2 separate regions of the Homo sapiens genome follow, and region 1 is linked to region 2. Evidence: promoter capture Hi-C in human tissues and cell types (Jung and others, 2019). All regions are on one chromosome and are shown on one strand. The core of a region is centred on a gene start or on the middle of the fragment in contact, and the rest is flanking DNA. Distances in the headings are between cores, read along the strand shown. Region 1 overlaps EPB41L2 (erythrocyte membrane protein band 4.1 like 2). Region 2 holds the start of AKAP7 (A-kinase anchoring protein 7).

Evidence for each region. Contacts are between HindIII fragments. The study calls those that stand out against the background at their distance.
Region 1: a contact is called between a fragment that was not itself captured here and the fragment with the promoter of AKAP7 in region 2, in 2 of the 25 tissues and cell types used here (IMR-90 fibroblasts and adrenal gland).

Annotation. Positions count from the first base shown.
Region 1 is chr6:130,937,521-130,942,287 of GRCh38, forward strand. The region is part of intron 3 of EPB41L2 (erythrocyte membrane protein band 4.1 like 2); the gene reads right to left. Among named protein-coding and RNA genes, the nearest start is that of SMLR1, 110 kb to the left of the region's middle. The HindIII fragment of the contact is 5,157 bases long and covers 602-4,767 here.
Region 2 is chr6:131,131,733-131,136,716 of GRCh38, forward strand. It overlaps AKAP7 (A-kinase anchoring protein 7), which reads left to right and starts at 3,735. Exons shown (of 8, transcript NM_016377.4): 1 at 3,735-4,050. The coding sequence starts at 4,032. RefSeq lists enhancers at 3,366-3,866, 4,303-4,362 and silencers at 3,693-3,782, 3,933-4,042. The HindIII fragment of the contact is 8,304 bases long and covers 2,391-4,984 here.

The sequences.
Region 1 (4,767 bases), core at 1,930-4,429, 190 kb before region 2:
TTTAAAAAAAAAATGATTGGCTGGGCGCGGTGGCTCATGCCTGTAATCCCAGCACTTTGGGAGGCCGAAGCAGGTGGACCGTGAGGTCAGGAGTTCAAGACCAGCCTGGCCAAGATGGTGAAACCATGTCTCTACAGAAACTACAAAAAATTGCCAGTTGCAGTGGCAGGTGGCTGTAATCCCAGCTACTCGGGAGGCTGAGGCAGAATTGCTTGAACCAGGACAGCAAAAGTTGCAGTGAGCCAAGATCGTGCCACTGCCCTCCGGCCTGGGTGACAGAGTGAGACTCCATCTCAAAAAGAAAAAAAAAAAAAAGATTAACACAGCCTGCTAAAATAAGATTTATCTGACAATCTTCAATGACAACTATATTTGAGTCTACCTTTGTGAAAGAAATCATCAGGTGGAAAAACACAAGACGACTGGAGATCCTACATCTTATCACAAGCCAGACCCATTGAAACTGTTCTTACCTCTATTAGCCAGGAGTGCTTATTCTTTTAAAAACTAACCAAAGTAGAAGACAAGTTACAATGCAGAATAATCTTATATCACTTAAACGCTTACTTTATTATGGTTGTAAAGCAGAGGGAGATAGGACGTGACACAAAAGGAGAGGTCTCGATGAGTTTCCTAACAACAGTAGTTGCCATATACTTCACCACCTGAATTTCTGATTCTTGAATTTGATGACAAGCAACTTCTAGGCAATCTAGGGAAAAATCCACTTCATTTTGAGATATCTCAGTTTTTAAACATTGATCTACTTGGGGCAACAGTGTTTCTATTCAATTTGACATTTTTTCCAAGTAAAAGTTTTTCATTCCTGGTGGATGACTAACAAAGTAAAATAAAAGACAAAGTGACAACAAGGTCTTTGTTCACCACTGGAGTGTGGAGGGAGGGGGACCTGGCTGGGTGAATCTTTAAGGTCTTGCTTGATTTAAAACACACATACACAAAAAATGCTACAACTATGTAAGGAGGAAACTCTGAGGCATCAGAAAGAACCTAGAATTCAGAAGCAGGAAAGTTAAGCAGCTTTGGGTGAACATGGCCCTGAACCGTGCCTTTCAAAAAGGCTGTACTACTGGTAGTGTGCCCACCTGATCCAAAGATGCCAAAAATCCAGCCCTCTAGCCTCCTCCCACCCCAAAATGCCTTTATTTTTTTACTTCTCTTGGCTTCAATAGTGAAATTCTACCACTAGAATTCGACCACTAGATTCTTTAGAGTAAACAGGTATCTTCTTTTAAAATACAGAGATCTCTTAGAAGGCAGTACAGGTAATTCACACACTAAAGTCATTCACTCAAACTGCTGATCCTCTGTTACTTAGCTGCTTATCTGCTAGATTTGAAAAAGTAGGGATTTTGTTTCCAGAGGAAGAAAAAGTAGGCAGGAAGCTTAGAACATTTTTTGTATTATAATACTATAAAGGAACACCTGGATATCATCATGGAACTAGTAACAAGAAAGTCTAACGGCGAAAAGCACCAAGAAATAGAAAAGTAAATCAGTGTGAAACCCAACCATGAACACAGGAATGAAATCTTTCCCCTTTACTGCACAGGCTCCAACCAGGGGCAGAGGAGACTAAAAATCCCTCATGATATCACCAATGCTTGGTCCAGAAATGTTTAATGAATAAAGCCACAAAACTATATATAATAAATAGTGACCCAAACCAAGTGAATAACAAATGAATTGCACCTATTTGCCAAAAACCCAAATAACTTTTTTTTTTTTTTGAGGCTGAGTCTCACTCTATCACCCAGGCTGGAGTGCAGTGGTGTGATCACCGCTCACTACAACCTCCGCCTGTCGGGTTCAAGCAATTCTCCTGCCTCAGCCTCCCAAGTAGCTGGGATTACAGGCGTGTGCCACCAAGCCCGGCTAATTTTTTGTATCTTTAGTAGAGATGTGGTTTCTCCATGTTGGCCAGGCTGGTCTCAAACTCCTGACCTCGTGATCCGCCCACCTCGGCCTCCCAAAGTGCTAGGATTACAGATGTAAGACACCGCGCCCGGCCCCAAATAACATATTTTAAGGAGAAAAGCATTTCTATCCTCTTTCATCTCCTAGGACCCACCCCCCAATTAAACACACATGCAAAATAAAACGGATTATCTAGACACCAGCAGGGAATACTAAAGCAACAAAATGAAAACTAATGAAAAGCATCTGCAAGAAAACAATGAACTATGTCAAAACAGATGCTACTAAAGCTACCACAATCAAAAGTCTTTTTAGAAGATATCCAGAGAGCCTAATGGTAACTTTGACATGTGCTATATTCAGGGGAAGAGTCCACTTTATTTTAGTATGTGACAAAACATGCTCATCGTTCAACTTTTATTAAGTAGAAAATAGACTTCCAATTAAAGATGGTAGAATGAACATGCACACTTAGCTCTGTTCCCTACAAAATCTGTTCTAAGACAATGCAGAGTGTACATGTTACTGTGTACATATGCACACGTGATTCTTCCCCCAATGCAAGGAACCTGGGAAAAGCAAAATTAGGATAAGCAGACTGAAAAAGGATAGGAGGTAGGATCAGTGCATTTGTATTTTATGCTTTCTTTCCCATGGGTGGGAATCCACTTCTCCATAGATTTAGCAGAAGCAAAGAGCTTAATTTATTTAAACCCCAATAAATACACTGGCTTTGCAAGATGAAGATTCCTAGTTAATGCCAAGCCAAAGAAAGCCTGGATCAAAAATGGCAACACTAGCCCTGTAAAGCCAGGAAAGTGGTTTGCCCTGAACAAATGTTTCTGGTACATTTTTTTTATGTCATCCTTGATACGCAAGGATATATTAAAACCTTTTCTTTCTTGTAACCCCCAATTTTTGCTTGGATGCTACTATTTAAGCAGTTTTAAAATGAAAAATGTAATAGGTTAGGTTAGGGTATAGCTGAGTTTTTCCTAAATATATCTTTTTTTTTTTTCTTTTGGGAGATGGAGTCTCACTCTGTCGCCCAGGCTGCACTGCAGTGGCATGATCCTGGTTCACTGTAGACTCTACCTCCTGGGTTCAAGCAATTCTTGTGCCTCAGCCTCCCAAGTAGCTGAGACTACAGGTGCCCCCTCACCATGCTCAGTTAATTTTTGTATTTTTAGTAGAGATGGGGTTTCATCACATTGGCCAGGTTAGTCTCAAATTCCTGACCTCAAGTGTGATCTGCCCGCCTCGGCCTCCCAAAGTCCTGGGATTACAAGCATAAGCCAGCGTGCTCAGCCCTAAATATATCATTCTTTGAAATCCAAAAGTTTCTCCTCAGTGAAGACATGCATACCGACTCCAGCCTATAGTAACTTGGCACTTCTGTGCTTTTGTATTACTTTTCAGAACTATAAACAATACTTTATCAATTTGACTCATATGTTTATGTATGTGGATATAAGTGTGTGTGTGTATAAACACCTGCTATTACTGTCTTATATGTAAAGCTTATCTCTGAAAGTAAAATTCATAAATAAAAGGAAAAATGATACTTCATACTTTTCTTTTTATCTTCTCAGCTCAAGTAGGAACCAAATCAATATCTGGGGATAAAAATTATTTCTGAACACATAGGATATATTTAAATAAATACTATTTTGAGAGGAAATTTGTAAAATAGTGTGAAAATATGACTTCCTTAACTTCTCATTTTTCTTAAAAATTATATACCATCACAAAGGGAGACTAGCAACCCTGTCATTAATTTTTTAAAAATGAAAACCCAGGATTTTTGTCCAACTTTTTCTACTACTCACTTTAAACAGCAAGACTTAGCTTAAGTCTCTAATGAATTATAATCTCTTTTAAAAGACGGAGAATTGACTATAACTGTTAGATAATAAAGAGGCTAGTATCGAACTTCTAGCCAGAAGCGCACACCAAATTTTTTTAAGTATCTTTCATAAAAGTTGCTAAGCACCATATTTCCATGAAAACTTATTTCAAAAACCATGAGCAGCAAACTTCTGTAGGCTAGCACATTCTCTGTAAACTATTTGCCTAGAATGAATTTTGACATTTGATTCATACAGGCTTTCTGTGCTACGGAAGAATAGCTTATCAGAGCAGTCCTATTTGATTCACTTGAAATTGTTGCTGACAGAAATCTGGAAGGAGATGTCAGTGAATACAACAAGTAGATGGTGGTAACACTCAGATTAAGTTTCCTCTCTGTGCAAATAACCAGACTGATGCACAAAATCAGGCTTAATCTCAAAACAGGCTAAAATGGCATATTCTGCAAATGAAGTACACTTATGAGATGTAGTTTGATTACTAGACAGAATGGAGCTTGTGCCCTCAGGTGCCTCTCCAGAATATAAGAGTCAAAACAAAATAAAAGATAAATTAATACTCCTAATCATAATTTTTCTAACACAGTTCAGAGTTGATGTATAACTCCATTGTAGAGCATAATTAAATAAATATTTAAATAGCAAACTGACAGATCATTTATGTCAGTGCTTTAATAATTTAGCCACCTTGCATCATAAAACTATTTTTCTGAATAATCCACGGATTTTTACAGACTGTATTTTATTATGTTATACCGCATTCAATCCCTTTAAGCTCCAAATGCTGGCATATTATGTTATAGTGCTATAAATACTAATGATAAATTCTGTCCATGTTTCCACTTGGCCACAGAGTATGTGCTCCTGCTAAGGGAATGGATGAATAGAATGCACCTAATTCCAGCTTTTGTGTGATAAATTAAACAACATTCACAGGTGGAGACAAGATTCTCAAATCCCT
Region 2 (4,984 bases), core at 2,485-4,984:
GAGTACCTAACCCAAGTAGAAGGGTGGGGTCAGGGACTGTTCCCCAAAGGAGGTCACTGACAGTTCCTACTGATCTTGACCATAGCTGCGGTCCCCTGTGACAGCAGTAGGACAGTTCAATGTACTGATGTGGGAAACAAACTCTATTTAATAACTGCTAAATGGTGCTGAGAATGAGTTAAGGTTAGAGATAATCGGCAAACTGACATAGAGGCTTAAAAATCTTAAAAATCCCTATAGGATGTTTGGTTATTGACAGAACCAGTTAATATTGAAAATCAATTAAATAGATAAATTCGGCCAGGCGCGGTGGGTCACAACTGTAATCCCAGCACTTTGGGAGGCCGAGGCGGGCGGATCATGAGGTCAGGAGATCGAGACCATCTTGGCTAACATAGTGAAACCCCGTCTCTACTAAAAAATACAAAAAATTAGCCGGGCGTGGTGGCGGGCGCCTGTGGTCCCATCTACTCGGGAAGTAGAGCAGGGAGAATGGCGGGAACCCGGGAGGCGGAGCTTGCAGTGAGCCGAGATTGCGCCACCGCACTCCAGCCTGGGCGACAGAGCGAGATTCCGTCTCAGAAAAAAAAAAAAAAGATGAATTCATAGGTATTAATTTGTTTTATGAAAGCAAAAAAGAACCAGGTTGCCCAATGCTTTAACGAAGGTTCACCTGCAGCACGACTCATGAGGGCATGGATCCTCTGGTCCACACTTCCCTCTCCCTCCGTATGTTCTGCCCATTCCTCCCTGACTATTAGTACACAGCCCTTTTCTCCCCAGAGGACAATATACACTGGCACAGTGCCAAAACAACTGGATTGGAAGGGTTTAGTTTTAAGCTACCACACTGTTCCTGGACCACAACACCCCACCGAGATTTTGAAAAGCCTGAGCCAATTATTTTCTAGAATGTCACACATTCTGGATTGGTCTGATTCTTTCCTCATCATGTTATTTTACTTGTACCTCTATCTCCTGTATTTCTGGAAATCTGAAAATTATATTTAAAGCCTTAGCAGCTTCAGGTGAAATATTTATGGCAAGACTACCTTGCAGTGATGATATAGCTTTCACAGGAGCTTTCACAGATTGTCCACCATTAATGATGCTGAGTTTAATCACGATAAAGGTGGTGACAACCAGGTTTATTTACATGGAGTAAAAATATGTTCTCTCCTGAGCAATTACCAAGTATTTTGTGGGGGGTAGTATTTTGGCAACTTATAAATATTTCGGTCCACATTAACCTTTCATGTAATGGTTTTAGAATATATTGATGATCTTTGCATCAATCAGTTATCAGTTGTGGTGGCAAAATGGTAATTTTCCAATTATTTTATGTCTCCTATATTTATTATTGAAAATTCTTCTGTGCAAAGCAGCTTTCCCATACTACTACTTCTAAAAAGTCATGGTAAATCTTTCTTTCCCTTTAATTTTTAGAGTAAGGAGACTAAGGAATTGCGTACTTGTCACCTTTAATGGTGGCCTACTAGTTTTTCTTCCTCATTTTTTGAGTATTATTATGGGTATATAGATTTTGTATTCAGTATGTTACAATAATTACAGGTGTTATCCTTTTATGATGTCAGATTATCTCCCATTTGCTCAAAGAAAGCTGTTTCTCGCTAGTCCTTGTGTTTTTGATAGTCCCCATTTGTCTTTGCTTTTTGGCACAAGAAGATGTCCAAGGTTCACCTTGTACTTCCCTTTCTCCCTGTCATTTCTAAAAGAAGCTCTGTGAAAAATTCCTTTTTCAGACTTGGGTAATTAAAATGTTCCTCCACATGGTAGGTGTTGATAAGACTCTGTATTCATAATACTGGTGGTGAAAAATATGTGGCATTTGGGCTGTTACCTCTGCTTAGGTAAGAGAATGAAACTTCCATATATCTCTTGGTACACACCACAGGGGAAGAAAAATCTTTCTCCTGCCCATTTAGTTCACTAGGTTGGACTGTGTAAATTAAATTGACAAAAGACAGATTAAGACGAGAAAAGGATTATTACACATGCACATAGATGCTTCACAGGAAAGAACTAAAAGCCCGAAGAGGCAGTTAGAACTGGGGGCTTCTATACCATTTTAACGATGATAAAGTGTGGAGAGGCTAGACAAAGGAAAAGGGGGCTTAGCCTTTTTGCAGTATGGGAAGGTTACTAGAAAATGTATGGGTTTGTTATGCAGGTAAGACTCATTCTCCTCTTTCTGGTATGGGTGAGTGGTAAAGCTTTGTTGTTTGTTTGTTTGTTTGAGACAGGATCTGGCTCTGTTGTCCACACTGGAGTGCAATGGCATCATCTCAGCTCACTGCAACCTCCACCTCCTGGGCTCCAGCGATCCTCCCACCTCAGCCTCTGGAGTAGCTGGGATTACAGGCATGGGTCACCACGTCTGGTTAATTTTTGTATTTTTGGTAGAGACAGGGTTTTGCTATGTTGCCCAGGCTGGTTTCAAACTCCTGGACTCAAGTGATCCACTCGCCTTGACCTCCCAAAGTGTTGGGGTTACAAGCGTGAGCCACTGGGCCCGGCCTGGTAAAGCTTTAAAAATAAAAATTTATGTCACCTTTACGAAGGGAAATTTATGTCCTGCTTTTAGGCAGAAAGGGGGAGGTCAAAGTTGTTCCTGAGTCTTTAGTTTCTGAACTGTTTTAAGCTCAAGAATAATCCTTATGCTGAAGTGGCATATTTGGGGTGGCATATTCTCATCCTCTTCACTATGAATGTGGACCACATTTTTGCAGCTTTTATTTCCGCAGTTACTTATGTTTCTTTCTCTGCTATTATATGATCAGCTCCATAAGTAAAAGACCTGTCTTACCTGCACATCCTCAGCACAGAGCTCAAGCATTAAATAAATATTAGGGGAACTGGTTGTACTTTCCTACCAGCCCATAAATGGGCATCAGAAACTCAACGTGTTAGAATTATTTGAAAATCAGAGTAACTAGTTTGCCGACTTCTAGTGTGCAGCCTTTACGCCAGCTGTTGTGGCTGTGTAGGGGTCTTCTTTTCTTCCATCCCTATTCTACGATGCATTCAACATAAGCGAAGTGTTATTATTCACGAAAGGCGCTAATTTGTGGACGGATGCACCTAATGTTCTTAACCCCTGGTTTCTTCGCACTAAAACCAATCCCAATAGCATTCCGTTTCAAGTGAAAGGTTTTTATTTTTTTAAACTAAGTAAATTTCTTTTTCTCCCAATTTACTCACTGCAGTACCTTATACTACAAGAACCAGCAACTGGTTTCCTCTTAATGTCTAAACATAACATCATTGTTAAAAATTAGAGACTTTGTCACAATTTGCAGTTTTTAAAAGTAAGGTAAATAAAGTATCTCATTATACAGAAGTACAAGGTCTCGTTCTTGTACATTTCGCTCTTCCCAAATATTCTGCAATCAGAACCCTGATTGCAAAACTAAGCACATGGATTCTCAAAAGACACCAGGCCAGAGAATTCTTTCATCCTAGTCCCAATCTCGCCCTTGAAAGCGTGGGAGGGGCAAGGCTGCGCCACGGGAAATAAATGAGGGCTGCCAAAGGCCGTCGGAGGCCGCGGGGCTCGGCAGGCAGGCGAAGACCCAGCGTCGCATTGCAGAGTCGAGACGACCTGGGCTGCCGTGACGCCGCAGTCGCCGGCCCTAGTTTCCCCCGCCCTGCCCGAGCGCGTCCGCGCCTCTCGCCCGAATCCGGGTACCACCGGCGACTCGGGTCGGCCCCTTCTGGCTTGTTCCGGCGTCCGGCCTGGCATGCGGGTGCTGCGGCTGCTGCGGCTGCCGCCGCCGCTGCTGCCGCTGCCGCGGGGGCTGCGGCTTGGGAAGCTCCGCGCTTCCGCAGGCCTGGCCTCCGCCGCCCGGGCCCCCGCAGCCTGTCGCTGGACCCCGCGCCGGCCCAGCGCACCGCCCTCAGGCCCCGAGCCCCGCCCTGGCCTCCGCCTCGGCCTCGCCTCCAGCCCCGGGACGCGGCCCGCCACCGCCGCTGCCGCCAGCCCAGACGCGCCGCCCGCATGCGCCGCGACCATGGAGCGCCCCGAAGCGGGTGAGACCGGGCTGTCCAGCGGGCCGGGGCGGGGGCGACAGGAGCCGCGGGGGCCTGGGCCTGCTCTGCGCTCGAACTTTGGGAGGGCCTGACCCGCGCCGGCCCTTCTCCGAGTCTCCCTCCTTCCCAAAAGGACTCAGGGTAGCACCGAGAAGCCCGGTGCAACCGGGGTGTACATCAGTGCTGCCTGTAGCGAAGCGTTTTAATGCACGCATTGTGGGTCCGACAGGAGGCGGGGGTATGAGCCCATCCCCGAGTTTCACTTTTCTTTCTCCCTTTCTCATCCTGTGACCCTTTGCACAAAGTTCATGCCAGTACACATTCCTTCCGACGGTGTTGATGTGGGTAAATGTAAACAAAACCTAGTAAAATTTCGATTTTATCTTATATCACAAATATTAAGCACCCGAACCACCATACTGTCTCATTTAGGATTTTCTGCCAGGTTTGGACATGACCGCTTTTAAAACTGGCGCCAAGTCTACACTAGCGCCCGGAATGAATTTCCAGTTTAGGTCAGCGTTTGTTGTGAACTGAACTTTGTGATAGAGCGAGTTAGGGGTGGACTTTCGGTAAAAGGGTCCGCAAACCAATTAGAGAAAAGGTGCTCCTCTGCAAGAGTTTCATAGGATAAACTCATAGAAGAGTATAAAAAGCATAAAAACGTTAAAGTGTACTATATAAATAGCAGTTAATCGTGTGAATATGTTGACAATTGTTAAGTGAATGATGACAGTGAGTTTTTGCATTTAGGAAATGCATGGGAATGGAAATTGTTAAGGAGAAAAGAGCCATACTCCAGTTCCTTGTTTAAGTGCCGTGGCTTTGCAATTCAGGATCCTGTTAGCATATCTGTATATTTTCCTTACTCATAAAGTTTAAGATGTTTGTGGAGGTTACTTCCTCCTTTCATCCATTTTCGGACACTATTAAC